2 separate regions of the Homo sapiens genome follow, and region 2 is linked to region 1. The links are contacts of gene promoters, found by promoter capture Hi-C in blood cells and fetal thymus (Javierre and others, 2016). All regions are on one chromosome and are shown on one strand. Each heading gives the region's core, a stretch centred on a gene start or on the middle of the fragment in contact. The rest is flanking DNA. Distances are from core to core; before and after follow the strand shown. Region 1 holds the start of BPNT1 (3'(2'), 5'-bisphosphate nucleotidase 1). Region 2 overlaps AIDA (axin interactor, dorsalization associated).

Evidence for each region. The method cuts DNA at HindIII sites, captures the fragments that hold promoters and counts their contacts. A CHiCAGO score of 5 or more calls a contact.
Region 2: a fragment that was not itself captured here is called in contact with the fragment with the promoter of BPNT1 in region 1 in 1 of 17 cell types (M2 macrophages); the score reaches 6.4 in M2 macrophages.

Annotation. Positions count from the first base shown.
Region 1 is chr1:220,088,237-220,091,517 of GRCh38, forward strand. BPNT1 (3'(2'), 5'-bisphosphate nucleotidase 1) reads right to left here and starts at 1,552. Exons shown (of 9, transcript NM_006085.6): 1 at 1,450-1,552. RefSeq lists an enhancer at 1,663-1,852. The HindIII fragment of the contact is 18,631 bases long and covers 1-3,281 here.
Region 2 is chr1:222,681,847-222,685,127 of GRCh38, forward strand. All of the region lies in intron 6 of AIDA (axin interactor, dorsalization associated), which reads right to left. Among named protein-coding and RNA genes, the nearest start is that of AIDA, 29 kb to the right of the region's middle. The HindIII fragment of the contact is 690 bases long and covers 1,212-1,901 here.

The sequences.
Region 1 (3,281 bases), core at 302-2,801:
TAATCCCAGCACTTTGGGAGGCCAAGGCAGGTGAATCACCTGAAGTTAGGAGTTCAAGACTAGCCTGGCCAACATGGTGAAACCCCATCTCTACTAAAAATACAAAAATTAACCAGGCATAGTAATACAAAAATTACTCAGGAGGCTGAGGCAGGAAAATTGCTTGAACATAGGAGGCAGAGGTTGTGGTGAGCCGAGATCGCGCCACTGCAGTCCAGCCTGGGCGACAGAGACTCCGACTCAAAAAAAAAAAAAAAAAAAAAAATTGTCGCTGAATGCAGTGGCTCACACCCGTAATCCTAGAACTTTTTGGGAGGCCAAGGCTGGTGTATTGCTTGAGCTCAGGAGTTCGAGACCAGCCTGGGCAACATGGCAAAACCTCGTCTCTACAAAAAAATGCAAAAATTAGATGGTGTGGTGGCACATGCCTGTAGTCCCAGCTGCTCGGGAGGCTGAGGTGGGAGAATCACCAGACCCTGGGAGGTCAAGGTTGCAGTGAGACATAATGGCACCACTGTACTCCAGCCTGGGGGACAGAGCTAGAACCTGTCTTAAAAAAAAAAAAAAAAGAAAGAAAGAAAGGCTGGGCGCGGTGGCTCACGCCTGTAATCCCAGCACTTTGGGAGGCCGAGACGGGCAGATCACGAGGTCAGGAGATCGAAACCATCCTGACTAACACGGTGAAACCCCGTCTCTACTAAAAATACAAAAAAAATTAGCCAGGCTTGGTGGTGGGCGCCTGTAGTCCCAGCTACTCGGGAGGCTGAGGCAGGAGAATGGCGTGAACCTGGGAGGTGGAGCTTGCAGTGAGCCGAGATTGCACCACTGCACTCAAGCCTGGGCGACAGAGCGAGACTCCGTCTCGAAAAAAAAAAAAAAAAAAAAAAAAGAAGGAGGAGGAAGGAGGAGGAAGAAGAAGAAGAAAAAAGAAGAAAGAAGAAGAGTTTGTCCTTTGTCCAGTTTGCAAGGGTGTGAGGGAACATGTTCCTGAGCATTGTTGGCAAAGCGGTGAACCCTCTTAGGAGAGTTTTGAGAACCTTAATAAAAGTATAAAGTACGTATCTTTTGAACCAACAATTATATTTACAGAGAAATCCAAATAAATCACGCAAACCTATAAATATGTAGAAATGGCAGTTGGAAGAATATTTGCTGTTTAAAGAAATTTAATTTTAGGTACCAAGCAGTTTCTAAATTTGGGTGCATCAACAAACTCAATGTCTAGGTTTGTCTTGTTTCTACAGTATATGGCTATAAAAACCTTCCGGATCACGAAAATAAAAGCACAGATAAACAATTAAAATATCGACACTCAAGAGTCCAAGTCGGAAGTTAGAATATCTGGAGAAGCAATCTGATTCACATAAACCTTTTTCGTTTTATTTTTTTAACATAAATCCTATCTACCTGGCTCTTGCCCTGACCGGCCGGAGAGAAACGGTGACAAACCTGGAACAACGTTGGACCAAAGACACTTCAGGAGGAGCAAAAGCGCGTTATCGTAGACCCAGGTCCCTCGTTGTGTCCAGTACCGAGCTTTGGCACTGTCAATAAGTCTTTTGAGAAGGATGGCATCCCTACCTCAGCTACTGAGCATGCGGGAAACTGCGCGCAAGCGCACAACAGCGATTTCACACTGCCTCTTTAGACTCCTGATCCGCGGGAAAATTCCACTTGTCCGTGTTTTCTCCAAGCTCTCCGTAGGTGCAAGTCACCTGTTGCATTAAATAAAAGCGAAAGATGTGTCAACTTTCAAAGATTGGCTAAAAAAAGAAAAAGAAGAAGGAAAGAACACATTAAGCCAGCAACAGTGTGTTGAAACAAAAAAAAGATTGGTTTTGGTTTCAGCTGTCTTCCAGCCCACTTCGTAGAGTTCACTGTTTTAAAATGTTCTTTGTATTAGTGATACCACTCTGCGGCTATTTAACTTCGAACCCCTAGCGGTCCGTGGACAGGCTTCAGCAGGTCCACCACACACACCTCCACCTCCCACTCCCCACGCAATAACACAGCAACTTTATGCAGAATTGTGTCAAAGATGCTTGCTTACCTTTTTTTTTTTTTTTTTTTTTTTTTTTTTAAGCGATAGATAGCTTGCTCTGTCGCCCAGAGTCGATTACGGCTCACTGCTGCCTTCCCACTTCTAGGCTCAAGCCATCCTCCCGCCTCAGCCTTCCGTGTAGCTGGGACTACTGGTGGAGGTGCGCGCCACCACACCCAGCTAATTAAAATATTTTTTGTGTACAGATGGGATCTTTTACTGGGGGGCGTGGTTGGGGAAGGGGGCAGTGTCTCATCCTGTCGCCCAGGCTGGAGTGCAGTGGCGCAGTCTAGGTTCACTACAACCTCCTCCTCCTGGGTTCAAGCGATCCTTCCTCCTTAGCCTCCCAAGTAGCTAGGACTACAGGCGCGCCACCACGCCGGGCTAATTTTGTTTGTTTTTTAAGTAGAGACGGGGTTTCATCATATTGGCCAGGCTGGTCTTGAACTCCTGACCCCAGGTGATCTGCTCACCTCGGCCTCCCAAAGTGCTGGGATTACAGGTGTGAGCCACTGCGCCCAGCTTAAAAAGGCTTTTACGTCTTCATTTGATTTTCACAATAACTCTGTGAGTTAAGTAGACCCTTTTTGGGAAGTGGAAAAATATACATAACTTAAATTATATTACTTTAACCATATATATATATATATATATATATATATATATATATATACACACACACACACACACACATATATACATATATATATTTTTTGAGACGGCGTCTTACTCTGTCGCCCAGGCTGGAGTGCAATGGCTTGATCTCGGCTCACTGCAACCTCTGCCTCCCAGGGTTCAAGCTATTCTCCTGCTTCAGCCTCCTGAGTAACTGGGACTACAGGCGCACACCACCCAGCCCAGCTAGTTTTTGCATTTTTTTTTTTTTTAGTAAAGACGGGGTTTCACCATGTTGGCCAGGCTGGTCTCGAACTCCTGACCTCATGATCCGCCCGCCTCGGCCTCCCAAAGTGCTGAGATTACAGGCATGAGCCACTGCACCTGGCCATACTTTGGTTTTTATAATTAAATTGTATAATTACATGACAAGTACAAATGGCTTAAATAAAGACAAACATAATGCAAGGTAAGCTCAACAAGTGAGAATAGAAATCTGCAGTCATCCTAAAGAGTAGCCATCTCCCAAGTGTTCATTGTATCCTCTCATAGGTTTTACGAGAAAACGGCATAGTTGAATTCAGCAAGTTATGTAGAGGTTGGTTAGGAGAGTTTCTATGTAAAT
Region 2 (3,281 bases), core at 307-2,806, 2.6 Mb after region 1:
TCAGTACCACTCTCCCTCCTACAGCTGGTACAGAGAAAAGCGGAGGAACATCTGAGGCCCCTCACTTACAACTTCTCTGTTCCAAGAGGAAGCTGATAAAAATGGAGATCCCAGCAAGGAGTAGGATCTTCTCACATTGACTAGTTCTGTGTGTGGCCAAAGGCACTCTGGACAATGGAGATTACGGAGAACCAGACTATGAATGGATGAGGAGTCTGGGGTTACATGGAAGGGACTTGAAGTCAGTGAAATCCTTTAAGACCCTGTCTTCACACAGAGAAGAGGAAGGCTGCCATTTCCTTTTTTGTCTTATTATTTCTGCTTTTAAAAAAATTGCTACTGTTTACATCATATACCACCACCAAAGGAAAATTTTTCTTTTGGTCCAGAAGGGCAAATGGCATGATGGTCTTTGTTCTAAAATAGTAGTATATCACCACCTAGACCAGAACGTTAAAGAGGCAATGCCTTCTCAGAAAATTACTAAGGATTGTATCTTCTGAAAACATCGTGATTTGAATTTGCTTATTAAGTTTATTTGATTTTTATATGATATTTTATAGATGCTTGTCACAGGCACTGGTACTTCAATGAGAGGTCAGTCCTTATGTTGCCTTGGTGCTTTGAAAATTAAATGTCATGAACAAAGAGTACATAATTTTTTATCCACACTTTTAGGACAGAATTCAATCAGGTGTCTAAAATGCAAACTCAACATTATCATAATATATACATATGATAATATATATACCCATGATAATATATGCATTGCTAGTTTCCACCATTTTTAACTTATCATACTTGTAATTAAATTTGCATATCTGGTACATATCTGATTTTCTCAGTCATCCAAATTTTTTTTGAGTATATATTTCTTTGTGCTGCCAAAACATAATAAAAATATACATACTTGATAATGCTTTGCATTATTTTGAGATAATTTTTAACACAGTTTAAGGTAAAGATACTGCTCAAACTGGCTACAATATTTGGTAGATGGAAGATAACACATGAAATGTGTCTTGAAAATCTGGCAATAGAAAATCTTTGCAATTTGCATTGCACATAGATAACAGGTCATAGTGATACCATTTATTTGTTTGAATTGCTGAGTTACATTTAGAGATAGAAATCGTTGTAAAATATTAAAATACATATGCAATTTATTTTAGCTAGCAATTGATAAGCAGTTGAGGAACATGGGTTCCTCAAGCTTTTAAGAGAAAGGCTTTGAAATTATAAGTTTGTTCATTTTGAAATTATCTTAAAAGTTTGACAAAATCTTAGGGGCCATTATCATTGAAATAATATCGTATGTAGGTCTGTTGAATTAAAACTATACCTGATTAAAGTTGTTTGTAAACACAACCATACACTTCAGATGATATTAACTGCTTGGCCCCTAAACATGTTCTGGATTTCCACAAAAAAGGAAAGCCCTGATAGTCACAGGAAAGCAATGAACATTTGCTGCAGTTTTTGACTTTCTTACATGTGTGTTAGCAAGAAAAGAAACTGCTTCATTTCAGCGGAAAATAAAATCCATGCTTTCTTATCTTTCAAGTTCAACTCAGAATTGAATAGTTATGCAGCAGAAAACAAATACAGGTTTGACATTAAATAGGTAAATTTCATTCTTTATTTTGAGTTTCAAAAATAATGTTTTATGCATACATAAGCCTACGTAAGAGATGAAGAACCAGTACCTATGTATAATAATTCTGAAACTGCTAGGACTATTTGAGCTTGGATCATGTTACTTAGTAAGAAAATCTTTTTAAAAGTCTTGTGTAAAGTTGTGTCTTGGCTATTTTTAAAGTTATATTGCTTTGGTTTATCATTTTATAGCTTTACTATTCAAGACTATCAGTAAATTTTTAGGTTATAAATAATAGGCTATAAGCTTATACTTTCTATTTAAATGAAATCTACCAAGACTATCTTTAGAAAAGTTAACTCCCATTTTGGCTAAGCCAATTATATAACATAAATATGTTTGTCTTAAAAAATTTAAATATTTTGAAAAGGAAGGAAGGAGATTAATATCAAGAAAGGTAAGTAAGCTTGACTACCTTTTTTTTATTTTCATGAAAGGCTGGCTAAAAAGTTTTTAATTTTAAATTTTAAATCAGAAAAAAACTATTCTTGGTCATTCCGTATCTACATACCATACATCATACCCTCACACCTCATTATCTTAACAGTGGTAGTGGTTAGTATATGAGTTGGTCAAAACTCATTAAAGGTACATATTAAAAAGAATGAATTTCTTTTTTTTTTTTGAGACGGAGTCTGGCTGTTGTTAGCCTGGGTTGGAGTACAATGGCACAACCTTAGCTCACGGCACCTCCGCCTCCCAGGTTCCAGCAATTCTCCTGCCTCAGCTTCCCAAGTAGCTGAGATTACAGGTGCCCACCACCACGCCTGGCTAATTTTTGTATTTTTAGTAGAGACGGGGTTTCACCATGTTGGCCAGGCTGGTCTCGAACTCCTGACCTCAGGTGATTCACCTGCCTCGGCCTCCCAAAGTCTTGGAATTACAGGCATGAGCCACTGTGCCCAGCCAAGTGAATTTCACATATGTAAATATCCTAGTAAAACTGATTTTAAATTTTGGGTTCCCTTTGGGTAACAAGAAAGTTTTTCTTGCTCTATAATTAAAAGTTAAGTATCATCTTGCTATTTCAATGACATTTTCAATGAATATAATTTTACAAGTTATTTTTTAATAACACAGGCCCTGAACAATATGATCCCAAACCAAATATAGCTAATTAAACCATACATACTCTTTCTTTTAGGGGGGAAAAAAATTCAGGGACTAGAAAGGTTCAGTAAGGCATCTGTATCTCTGAAATGAAATATCACAATGCTATATCAGAATACAAATTCAGTTTGGGCTTTATCTTACATAGCAAATGGATTTAATTTATGGTAGAAGTTCCTTTTCAACTTAGCAACCTGAACCCCATAAAGACCTTAATCTGCCCACTTCATGATTTACATCATCTGCTTCTTGTTTGCTACAGAAGTACAGTAAGCAGGAAAACAACCAAATCAGATAGAAATTTATAGAACTGGAAGCTATACCAATTACAGTATGTGGTTTGAAACGGCAATAAAAATTATCGAGTCAGTGAAACAGCAAAATATCTCACCATCTTGGCAACCTTGAAATACCCTATAAAAGCAAGAAAAATATAGCTCTATCTTCATAAAGCAAAGTAAATTGGAAATAATGCCCTTGTACCAAAGAAACATTATTAACAATAAGAGCTACC